Linked DNA regions of Homo sapiens: all the other regions are linked to region 3. The links are contacts of gene promoters, found by promoter capture Hi-C in blood cells and fetal thymus (Javierre and others, 2016). All regions are on one chromosome and are shown on one strand. The core of a region is centred on a gene start or on the middle of the fragment in contact, and the rest is flanking DNA. Distances in the headings are between cores, read along the strand shown. Region 1 overlaps LOC105369325 (a long non-coding RNA gene). Region 2 overlaps LOC105369325 (a long non-coding RNA gene). Region 3 holds the start of CCDC86 (coiled-coil domain containing 86). Region 4 overlaps LINC02954 (long intergenic non-protein coding RNA 2954).

Region 1 (2,762 bases), core at 257-2,756, 200 kb before region 3:
TTGAGTTACTGACCTTGTCACTTTTACCTGGTGGGCAGGGAAGAGATCAGATCTGTTTTGATGGGTAAGAACAAAAGGTGAGGTGGTTGAAGAAGATGTGGAAAGGGCCCACGGTGCACTTTGTTCTGAAATTGCAGTGACTGGGGGTGACTCGGATCAGCCCATCAAAGTGACACCCCTCTTCAGGTGGCCCAATCATCAAAGGTGGGGGAAAGGGCTGGGAGCTAGGGGGCCAGTCTTTTGTCCTGTCTCTGACTTGTAACATTTATTTCCCTTCCCATTCACCATAAGTATGAGGCAACAGTACACAAAACGGAGCAGGATGAAAAATAACCCAGAGAACTCTGTGTGATAGGAAAGCACGGGTGAAAAGATGAATTGATGAGAAAGTTATCCACATGATGCATCATATCAAAAGGTCTGTTCATGTTGTAGGTGGTGGGACACTGGTTTGATTCTGAGCTTCCTGGTGGCCAAGGCAAAGAGGCAAACCCAGAGGCTTGAGGACCCTCTCTACTGTCTCAAAAGACATTCTCGTCATCTTTATGAGCAACAAACAGCAAGTTTCATCATGCTGTTTCCCACAAAATCCCTCAATTCCTGAAGGTCTGCCCCAAAGCACAAGTCAGTAAAAGCAGCTCTTCAGGGCCAAAGCAAGTGAATGCTTGTGAATGATACAAGCTGCTAGGTGCGATTACTGTTGTAGCGGGGATTTATGCATCAGAGGACTGGCTTTTCTAAACCTGGTTTCTAGAGTCAGAGGCACTTTTTAAAGCTGGAATTCTCAACAAGGGTTTTTCCTAACTGCCTTCAGAAACTGGCCAGTCTTCAGAAATGAAGTGATGTGCAAAAGTGAAGTGTGCCTGGCACATAGTAGGTGCCCAGTTAAGGTTTGTTGTTACTGTGGTTGGATAAAGCCAGTCTGCCTGGTTGAATCTCACTCTCATGCTTGCTATGCAACATCAAAAGCTCTTTTCTGGGAAGAGGCCCATTAGGAGCATTTGTCAGGGGTGTGATGCTGATAGCAGGTGGATTATTGAGAGATTTGCTGCAGAGCAAACACCGAGCTCAAGGCATCCTAATATGTATGTATGTTTGAGGTTCAAGGAAAAGTGCAGGTAAAGAAAATGGGCAGAACTCTGAGAGCAGTCTGTAGAAAAAGAGAACTCGACCACTGGGAGAAAGGCAGATGGCTGCACAGTTGTGCTTCTTTGAATGCTACTGGCCTGACTGAAGACAGAGCTGCATTCCAGCATGATTGTAGCCCAAGTTGGCATCAGAAGCCACCTTCCAGTCACCCTGCAGATCGGGAAATATGTACTGTTGAAGTCTGGTGGTAATTTGAGGGCTTCCACAGTATCATTTTAGAGAGGATCCCTATTCTTAGCTGTGCAGATTGCTCTAAATTACATTGAGCACTTCATATTCTTGAGAAACCAGCTGCCACTGCAGGAAATCAGAGAATACTACAGCTGGAGGCACCTCAGGAATCGCCATGTCCTTGTCTTACAAGGGACGAAACTGATGCCCTGACCTGAATAGTGAATTCACAGTAGAATATTAACACTACAGCAGAGGCTGACTCCCGCAGTCCATATCATTTATTGGTATGTTAATGATTAAGTGAAATATTGCAAACAACTTCAAGGTGCATCAATAGAGCATTGGTTAAATAAATAATGGTACGTCCATAAGACAAGATGTATGGGTGGAAATATTTTCACATGGACCATTAAGAAAGAATGAGGTTGATGGACTTTTATTGCTGTGGAAGGATGTCCATGACATATTGATGAGGAAAAGAAGCAATTTGCAAATAACATGCATGTGTCTCTGTATGTGTGTCTACATATAGGTATGTGTATGTATAGAGGTGGTTATCTCCAGGTGGTAGGATTCCAGATTATTTTTACCTTCTTTAGAGATTTTGTGCAGTGTTTAGCCTTTTTTTTTCTTGTTTCCTTTCTATGAGTGTGGATTTGTTATAATAAAAAGTTACATTAATGTTTTTTTTTTTTGAGACGGAGTCTCACTCAGTCGCCCAGGCTGGAGTGCAGTGGTGCCATCTCGGCTCACTGCAAGCTCCGCCTCCCAGGTTCACACCATTCTCCCGCCTCAGGCTCCCGAGTAGCTGGGACTACAGGCGCCCACCACCACGCCCGGGCAATTTTTTTTTTGTATTTTTAGTAGAGACGGGGTTTCACCGTTTTAGCCAGGATGGTCTTGATCTCCTGACCTCATGATCCGCCTGCCTCGGCCTCCCAAAGTGCTGGGATTACAGGCGTGAGCCACCGCACCTGGCCTATATTAATTTTTAAACATGTTAATTGCTCATTTAAAATAGGTTTCAAAAAAATTATCAAGGAAATACATGTTTATGGCACAAAACTTGGAAAACTATTTTAAAAACTAGAAAGAGAAAAAAGAATCCCATCCAAATCTACCATTCAGAGCATCGTGGGCAGCCCTCCTAGGCTTGTTTGCTGTACATCTTGCTGGGATTTTGTAAGAAGAATCCCTTCTGAAAACTGCATGAAATTCTCTTAGATCTAGATACCGGCATTTACCAGATGGGTTTCCTAGATGTTAGACATCTCATTCTAGTTTTTCCTTATATAGTAGAGGACATCTTTGTGCGTATATGTTTGTCTACACTGTTTTCTTGGCAGTTTCTAAATGTGGGTCTCCTGGTCAAAAGCGCAGGCATTGTTAAAGCCCTCGGTACGCATTTTCCAGTTGCTTTTAAAAGCTGTCTCTCAATT
Region 2 (3,057 bases), core at 398-2,897, 240 kb before region 3:
GTGCTGGGATTACAGGCGTGAGCCACTTTACCCAGCTCCTCATTTTTTTTTTTTTGCTATTAAAAATAACTGTGATAAATATTTTTGCACAATCATATCCTTATTTCCTTTAATTAGAATTATTTGAATCAAGGATTATGACCATTTTAAATACTAAAAGCACACTGTAAAAATTGAATTAGTTACCTCCATCCCAACTTACTTCTAGTAGATCTGAATACTGATTGGCTGAGTTTACTTAAAGAGGGACACACTTGAGTAGGTTTATAACTACTTTAGGGATCAGGATTTTTCTGTTCCATGATGGGCACTCTAGGTGCCCTGTGACTGTCAGTGTGGAAGAGGTCCAGGTCCACCTCGAGGGACAGGTTTGATATAAGAATAAGACATGTTTGTGATCATTAGTGAGTGTCCAGGACTCCACCTTGGGGGACAAATTTGATATAAAAGTGAGACATGTTTGTGATCATTTACTGAATGTCCAGGACATTCCTCGAGTGACTTCTGTTTGTCTTTGATGGCGGGTCCTTCCCTTTGCCCATTGCTGGGAGGTTTGGAGGAGCTGAGGTCACCAGCCTTGTTTCAGAGATGAGGAGACTGAAGTTCTGAGAGATGAGGGGATGGGTCCAGGTGCAGTCAGCCTTGGCCTGTGGCAAGAGGCAGGTCCCCAAGGCAATCTGGAGAGAGTCGGTTCTGGTCTGGTGTGGAGGGTGGGAGGGCATAGCTCAACAACTTCTACCCCATCCACACCGATGTGGAGCGCTCACCTCGATATGTGTCCCAGCAAGCCCCAACACTTCAGCATGGGTTATATGTTCCTAATTCTGTAAGCTCTTCTGAGGCCAGGGCCATGTTGGGTTGACCCTGTGGGATGATCTGGAAACAAATACTTATTGGTGTTATATGTGGTGATGATGATAGTGATGATCATGTCAATGATGAGAATGATGATAATGGCAGTAATGATGCTGATGGTGATGATGAAATGATGAAGATGATGGTGATGATGATGTCAGTAATGTTGATGAAGTCGATGATGATGATGATGGTGGTGATAATAGCTACCATTTACTAAGGGCTTACACAGTGCTAGGGACTCTATGTAATTACATTATCTTAGTTTTTTTCCCCAGAGTGAGTATGACACCTTGGCCGGGCGTAGTGGCTCGTGCCTGTAATCCCAGCACTTTGGGAGGCCGAGGCAGGAGAATCACTTGAGCCCAGGAGTTAAAGACCAGCCTGGGCAACACGGTGAAACCCTGTCTCTATAAAAAAATTAAAAAAAAATTATCCAGGCATGGTGGTGTGTGCCTGTAGTCCCAGCCACTTGGGAGGCAGAGATGGGAGGATTGCTTGAGCCCAGGAGGTTGAGGCTGCAGTGAGCTGTGATCATGCCACTGCACTCCAACCTGGGTGACAGAGTTAATATATACATACCACCTTCACTGATGTGGAGGATGACTTGAGGTGGCTCACAGATGAACATTTTTATCTTAATAATGTGTTTGTTTTACTTTATATTAATTTATATACTGAAAATAGATAACTAGCTCACCAGATTCATGGTTTATACATTTCATTTTTAGATTAACTAGTGAGTTGATTTAAAGGAAAAATATTAAGTAAAAATAATATTTGGTACTTGGATAAGGTAAACGTGAATGGAAATTTTGAATCATTGACATTTGGAAGCATTTGGGGCAGATATCATTTTTATTCTATTTTGCAGAAGAGTGAGTAGATACTCAGAGAGTTTAATTAGCCTGAGATTATACACCATCCAGGTGGTAAAGCTGGGCTGGAACCCAGATGCTTAATTTAAAACAACAACAACTTTTTACTTATATATGGGATACACACAGCACAGTACATGCAGTGTGTTATAAATGTAACTTCACACACTGCACGTGCTGGTGTAACCAGCACCTGGGAGGCTCCCCACTGCCCCGCACTGCTCCCTACCCAAGTATCCACTGTCCTGACTTCTGTCATCATAGATTGGCTTTGCCTTTTCTTTGAACTTTATTTTATTTATTTATTATTTTGAGACAAGAGTCTGTCACCCAGGCTGGAGTGCAGTGGTGCCATCTTGGCTCACTGCAGCTTCTGCCTCCCAGGTTCAAATGAGTCTCCTGCATCAGCCTCCCGAGCAGCTGGGATTACAGGTGTGCACCACCACGTCTGGCTAATTTTTATTTTTTATTTTTTTTATTTTTTTTTTTTTTAAGAAATTTAGATTTTATTCTTTTTTTTTTTTTTTTTTTATTATACTCTAAGTTTTAGGGTACATGTGCACATTGTGCAGGTTAGTTACATATGTATACATGTGCCATGCTGGTGCGCTGCACCCACTAATGTGTCATCTAGCATTAGGTATATCTCCCAATGCTATCCCTCCCCCCTCCCCCGACCCCACCACAGTCCCCAGAGTGTGATATTCCCCTTCCTGTGTCCATGTGATCTCATTGTTCAATTCCCACCTATGAGTGAGAATATGCGGTGTTTGGTTTTTTGTTCTTGCGATAGTTTACTGAGAATGATGGTTTCCAATTTCATCCATGTCCCTACAAAGGATATGAACTCATCATTTTTTATGGCTGCATAGTATTCCATGGTGTATATGTGCCACATTTTCTTAATCCAGTCTATCATTGTTGGACATTTGGGTTGGTTCCAAGTCTTTGCTATTGTGAATAGTGCCGCAATAAACATACGTGTGCATGTGTCTTTATAGCAGCATGATTTATACTCATTTGGGTATATACCCAGTAATGGGATGGCTGGGTCAAATGGTATTTCTAGTTCTAGATCCCTGAGGAATCGCCACACTGACTTCCACAATGGTTGAACTAGTTTACAGTCCCACCAACAGTGTAAAAGTGTTCCTATTTCTCCGCATCCTCTCCAGCACCTGTTGTTTCCTGACTTTTTAATGATTGCCATTCTAACTGGTGTGAGATGATATCTCATAGTGGTTTTGATTTGCATTTCTCTGATGGCCAGTGATGATGAGCATTTCTTCATGTGTTTTTTGGCTGCATAAATGTCTTCTTTTGA
Region 3 (2,989 bases), core at 281-2,780:
ATTCATTGGGCATTTACTATGCCCTTGGCACAGAAAGACAAGAAAGATCTCGTGCCTGCCCCTTAAGAAGGTCGCAATCCAATTCAAGGTGGATCTACAGGGATTGGGTAAAGGGGTTTTTTGCACACAGGCTTCGGAATCAGATCTGTGCTCAGGTCCTGTGCCTACCACTCATTTAGCCTTGGTTTCCTCACACAAAAAACAGGAATAATAACACCGCCTGCTTCACAGGGCTGACGTGCAGATTAAGCGTGATGACACATGCTGTTCCATGTTTGAAAGGCTGTTGACTGGTAAATCCTTATTAAGGCTGTTGACTGGTAAATCCTTATATAATCAGTGCTCAGTAATACTTTTTATCTTAAAGGCAAATAACTGTAATAGACTATATTGGATGAAGACCTCACTGCTTTGATCAAGTAATGGCTGGTTTACTTGCTTCTGCTTCTCTCACTAGAGAGGGCAGACAACGGTAAATGTCTGTTGAACGAATACAGACCTGAGGTGCTACAGGAGAGGCCCATAGGGACCCTGAGGAGGAAAGGCATCAGAGAAATTGATCTTTGAGGGCCTGGCCCCACCCTCTCCGGGATCCCAGGGCATTTTACCACATTCTGATTGTAATTACCTGTTTGCTAACATCCCCACTAACGTGAGCTCTCTCTAACCCTGGGGCTATTCTCCAGGCTGCAGCAGGGCAAAGGCGGGGTCCCAACACCATAGAGAACGCCACCCCTGTCCATGCTGTCCCCCACTTCACCTTTTCTTGGAGCGGTCCTTCCACACTCGCCCCGATTTGGGCTTCCCCTTCGGGATTACAGGAAGCTCCTCTTTATTCAACTTCTTGGACGCTGGGGCCTGGGATGAAGAACCTTTTCGCTTCTTTGCCCCGAAGCCGCCTGTCACCGTCTCCCCAGCTGGAGGTGGCTTGCTCGGCTCATGCTGACCCCGGGGGGAGCCAGGTGCCCTGGGTGTCAGCTCCAGTAGTGGCTGAGAGGGCTCCGGACCGGGAGCTTGCTGACCGGGGTAAGGCTCTGGTGATCCTGGGACCGGCGGTAGCTGATGCTGGGGGGCCCCCGGGGTCAGCTCCTCCTTATTCTGGGCCAACTCCGAGGCCAGTACTCCCTGGTCCTGAGAACACTTTGGTGCCTCCTCACTTGGCTTCGGCTGACATCGTGGGGATTCAGGACTGTACTCTGGCTGTCTTTGAGGCGACTCCAGGTGTAGGTCTTGCTGACGCTGGGGGGACGCTGCGCCTGGCTCTGGCTGCCCTTGGGGTGACTCCAAGCCTGCACCCTGCTGCAGACGGGGTGATCCTGGGCTTGTCTTCGGCGGCCTTTCGGGGGACCCCAGGCCAGCCCGCTGCACACTCGGAGGAGACCCGGGCTCCCTCGTTTCTTCTGGGTTCGACTCGAACTCCACAAGGGCCCGTCTCGTCCGCGAAACTGAGGTGAGGCTCTCGGGGGATTCGGGCCTTAGGCCTCCCAGCCGTCGGCTGCGCCTTAACGGTGTATCCATGGCTCAGCCGGTAAGTTTCCACACCCCTGCGCACGTGCAGCCCCCGCCGAAACCGGCGCCTTCCTATGACGTCAGGAGTCGCCGCGTCCGTGACGCACAGGAGGGGGGCTGTTGCTGAGGCGGCCATGTTGGTGAGGGGTGGAGAGGCGGGACCGGGGTTGGGGAGAGTGGGGCTCAGCATGCGCATGCGCAATTCGCGCGAGCGCAGTCAACATGTGATTGATGAGCCAGTCTTTTTCCTGGGATTCGCTTTTGCCTTTCTTGCAAAGTTTCCTGGGGAAAGAAGAGCGAGCAAGTAGAAAAGGGAAAGTGGGAGGACCCATTTCAGGGAGAGAACAGAGTCGAAAAAAGGTCCGAGGAGCCCATAGGCAAGGCCCAGTGGATGTTTTGCAGCCAACTCCGGTGCAGTTGGGCAGAGTCCTGCCCTCCTTGGGCCTGTTTTCTCATTTGTAATAGGGGTCATTTTGCACTAGCTTCGTGCATCCCAAATGATCCTGTCAGAGTCCTCCTCCCACCTACCTGAGGGACTGCTACCTGGGGGTCCTGGAGGTGGAAGATCGGTCTTTTCTGTGTTAATTGTTCACACTCTTGATTCTTCCGTCCTGTGCTTCCGTATATAATCCATAGCTCTCCCTCCCTTTTCAGCGTTTTCAACGTTTGTGAGGGAAGTTGAGGTACCAATAAGATGCACCACCTTTGTCCTGTGGCTCACCTGGGCCCTCGACCAGCTGCATATCCTCCCACGTCCCTCTTCTTCTACCCCAGTTCTAGAAACGGGTTGGATCATCTCCGATCTTCCTTTCAGCCCAGACAGTGGTTTTTGCTCGTGTGTGAACCTGCTTCGCCTCCCCTCCCTTCCCTTGCTATTCACCTGTAAATGTACTTTGCTTACTAAGCACTTTGGGACCTCACCAGTGAGCAGGTGTTGACTTCTGGACCTCCCAAGGCCTAGAGAAGACTCTCGGGATGTGGGGTTGGGGAATGTGGGGCTGTGGAGACTTTCGTGTGAGACCTAGGAGTGGGGCTTTGATTTACTTACAGCATGCTTCTTAGGAAGAACATCTTGGAAGTGGCCCAGTTGTGTAATTCTTGGAACTGCCTGGGGTTGGCCATTAAAGGTCCCAGGGCCCCGTCTGACATTCCAGTGGTTTCTTTTAGAAACCATTGTTTCTCCAGCTGCGGGCTTGTGAGAGGGCCTGGGAAATTGTCCAAGAATATCAGGGATCAGAGTGTCCTCATCTTCCTCATGTTCCTGAGTCAAGGAGACCCCTGCAGGGGGGCTTTGCCTGCCTCACTGCTCCTCTCCGGCCATGCAGCTGTCCACAGCAGAAGCAGCCGGGACACCTCCTTGCCCAGCTCTTCCACCCCCCAACTGTCAGAGGAGTGAGTTCCATTCAGTTCCTTAAATGCCCTGCCCCTGCCTGGAGACCCCAATGATCTGACACTCAGAACCAAGCCCGGCAGGTGTTGC
Region 4 (2,958 bases), core at 5-2,504, 220 kb before region 3:
CCTCTGCCTCCTGGGTTCAAGGGATTCTCCGGCCTCAGCCTCCCGAGTAGCTGGGATTACAGACGCCAGCCATCATGCCCAGCTACTTTTTGTATTTTCAGTTGAGACGGCCAGGCTGCATGTTGGCTAGGCTGGTGTTGAACTCCTGACCTCAGGTGATCCGCCCGCTTTGGCCTCCCAAAGTGCTGGGATTACAAGCATGAGCCACCGCGCCCTGCCGTGTCAGTGTATTTCATGCGTGGCCCAAGATAATTCTCCCAGTGTGGCCCACGGAAGCCAAAAGCTTGGACAACCCTGGCCTAGGTGTTTTGTCTACACAGTAACAAATATGCAACACGCATATGACTGCTCTGTGTGCTCCCGACAGCATCTCTACTCCATCATAGTATGCGTGTCTGCTGAGTTCAGACGCGGCTCAGACTGATTCTCTGCATAATCGGTGTTTCTTTTTCTTTTCTTTCTTGCTTTCTTTTTTTTTTTTTTTTTTTCGAGACAAGGTCTCACTCTGTTGCTCTGGCTGGAGTGCAGTGGCACAATAATAGCTCACTGCAGTCTGAACCTTCCAGGCTCAAGTGATCTTCCCACCTCATCCTCCCGAGTAGTTGGCACCCCAGGCACACACCACCATGTCCAGCTAATTATTATTATTATTATTTTTTTTTGTAGAGACGGGGTCTCGCTATGTTGCCCAGGTTGGTCTCAAACTCCTCGGCTCAAGCAGTTCTCCTGCCTTGGCCTCCCAAAGTACTGGGATTACAGGTATGAGCCACAGTGTCCGGCCATAATCAGTGTTTCATACCATCAGATCTGGTACATGGATTGAAACCTGTTTGCTAATTCCAGTCTACATGGAGCCAACCACTATGAAAACCTGGAAACTTGGTTGGGTTTTTTAGCTTTTATCTTGGTCTCTGGCTTGATTGAATGTAGATGCTCATGGGGTAGAATCTGAGCGCTCAAGACACGACCACCCAGTGCCTCCTGAAATATCACTGTTAGTCACTCCTTAGGGTGCCCTTTCAAAGTAGGAAATGCGGGAATCTTTTTGAATAGCACCTTCGTGTGGATTTTATAGCCTAAGAAAGGGTCCTGGGATAGCAGCAGAGCTGGGAAACTTTGGGAAGGGAGAGAAGGAAAGATGGAGGGCTCGACCCTCTCTGCAGACTTCCAGCCGGGGGACCAGCCCTGGATTGAAAAACAGGCAAGTGGCCAGGCGCGGTGGCTCACACCTGTAATCCCAGCACTTTGGGAGGCCGAGGCAGGCAGATCACCTGAAGTCAGGAGTTTGAGGCCAGCCTAGCCAACATGGTAAAACCCTGTCTCTACTAAAACTACAAAAATTGGCTGGATGTGGTGGCACGTGCCTATAGTCCCAGCTACTCAGGAGGCTGAGGCTGGAGAATCACTTGAACCTGGGAGGCGAATGTTGCAGTGAGCAGAGATCACGCCACTGTACTCTAGCTTGGGCAATAGAACGAGACTCCGTCTCAAAAAAAAAAATATAGTAAAATAGGCAAGCAATGATGAAGAGGACACATAGCAACAGGGCCTCTCACATCCACAGGTCACTTCCCAGTGTACAAAGCGCTCTCATTTAAAAGATGAGGAGACAGACACAGAGAAGCTCAGCCAGGCATCAGTGCCACACAGCAAACAGGCAGAATTGTCAAATGTGACCCTAACACCCAAGACCTTTCCACAGCTGAGTGAAGTGTTGTCATAGATCTCCTAGTTGTCAAATTACTTTCCTGCTTTTTTTTTTTTTTTTTTGAGACAGAGTCTCGATCAGTTGCCCAGGCTAGAGTGCAGTGGCGTGATCTCGGCTCACTGCAACCTTCGCCTCCCGGATTCAAGCAATTCTCTTGACTCAGCCTCCCGAGTAGCTGGGACTACAGGCGCCCGCCATCATGCCTAGCTAATTTTTTATTTTTGTAGAGACAGGGTTTCACCATGTTGGCCAGGTGGTCTTGAACTCCTGACCTCAGGTGACCCGCCTGCCTCGGCCTCCCAAAGTGCTGGGATTACAGGCGTGAGCCACCACCGTGCCCCACCCTTTTCCTGCTTCTTTCCTGACCACACCATCAGCAGGTCTGTAACTGCTGCTTCTCTGCAGCGTCCCAGAACTAAGCACGTGAATGGCACACGTGAAATAGAAACATGATGTGTCTTTCTCACTCGTGGTCCATGGGGCTTGGCCCCATCTCCCCAACTGGAGGGAAGCTTCTCGTGGCACCATGATCTCGGGCTGTCCCCTCTGCCCACCTCCAGCCTTCCTAACAGTGCTCCATGGTTCAGTGTGGCTTCAAGTTGAAAACATGGTGGGCAGGAGAGGTTTTGGGGGCTGGGAGTAAAGTGAAGTGGTTGACCTGGCCACTGTTTTTTAAGCCTCTGCGACTGGTTTGGTTTAACACTGAAGTGGAATCTGTGTATTAAATGCTGTAATGCCTTAAAATTAACTCCCCCGAGAGCATCTGCCTAATTTTTCTCCTTTGGCTCTATGTAAGTTGCCTTGGCAGGGTCTCTGCGAATCTTAGTCTTCCATATGAAAAAGTACTGCTTGCTAAGTATAGCTTATATCCTGAGCCCCAGGGAGAAAATAGAGAAAAGATTTCCGGTAAAATCAACCTCCGTAGAAGTTCAGTAGAGGGACCTCTTCACACTTGCCCCGGTTCTGATCCTGCATGAACAGTACTTTATCCTCTCCTCCTCTTCCCTGCTGCAGTCTTATGCTCCATGCAGTCCCTCTTCCAGGGAGCTGCTGGACTCATCTCCACGCAGTAGGAGTCTGGCTGCATCACCACTGCCCTCCTCTTACTGGAAACGCTTCAGTCCAAGTTCTGTAGCTCTGTGCCCTGACTCTGCCCTGTCTCACACACACCAGGCAGGTCACGTTGGTGGATTAATGGGACTGGATGAAGGGGACATCAGGCAGTGGAAGTGGCTGTACGGAAACAGGGT

Evidence for each region. The method cuts DNA at HindIII sites, captures the fragments that hold promoters and counts their contacts. A CHiCAGO score of 5 or more calls a contact.
Region 1: a contact is called between a fragment that was not itself captured here and the fragment with the promoter of CCDC86 in region 3, in 1 of 17 cell types (naive CD8 T cells). The highest score is 5.6, in naive CD8 T cells.
Region 2: a fragment that was not itself captured here is called in contact with the fragment with the promoter of CCDC86 in region 3 in 1 of 17 cell types (naive CD4 T cells); the score reaches 5.4 in naive CD4 T cells.
Region 4: a contact is called between a fragment that was not itself captured here and the fragment with the promoter of CCDC86 in region 3, in 1 of 17 cell types (naive CD8 T cells). The highest score is 5.9, in naive CD8 T cells.

Annotation. Positions count from the first base shown.
Region 1 is chr11:61,045,562-61,048,323 of GRCh38, reverse strand. All of the region lies in intron 1 of LOC105369325 (a long non-coding RNA gene), which reads left to right. Among named protein-coding and RNA genes, the nearest start is that of LINC02954, 8.4 kb to the left of the region's middle. The HindIII fragment of the contact is 3,449 bases long and covers 1-2,762 here.
Region 2 is chr11:61,085,565-61,088,621 of GRCh38, reverse strand. All of the region lies in intron 1 of LOC105369325 (a long non-coding RNA gene), which reads left to right. Among named protein-coding and RNA genes, the nearest start is that of CD5, 15 kb to the left of the region's middle. The HindIII fragment of the contact is 5,909 bases long and covers 1-3,057 here.
Region 3 is chr11:60,840,654-60,843,642 of GRCh38, reverse strand. CCDC86 (coiled-coil domain containing 86) reads right to left here and starts at 1,530. Exons shown (of 4, transcript NM_024098.4): 1 at 761-1,530. The coding sequence starts at 1,518. It overlaps CCDC86-AS1 (CCDC86 antisense RNA 1), which reads left to right. Exons shown (of 2, transcript NR_182293.1): 2 at 1,663-1,837. RefSeq lists enhancers at 1,105-1,334, 1,241-2,440. The HindIII fragment of the contact is 9,112 bases long and covers 1-2,989 here.
Region 4 is chr11:61,062,665-61,065,622 of GRCh38, reverse strand. All of the region lies in intron 3 of LINC02954 (long intergenic non-protein coding RNA 2954), which reads right to left. All of the region lies in intron 1 of LOC105369325 (a long non-coding RNA gene), which reads left to right. Among named protein-coding and RNA genes, the nearest start is that of LINC02954, 8.8 kb to the right of the region's middle. The HindIII fragment of the contact is 1,937 bases long and covers 286-2,222 here.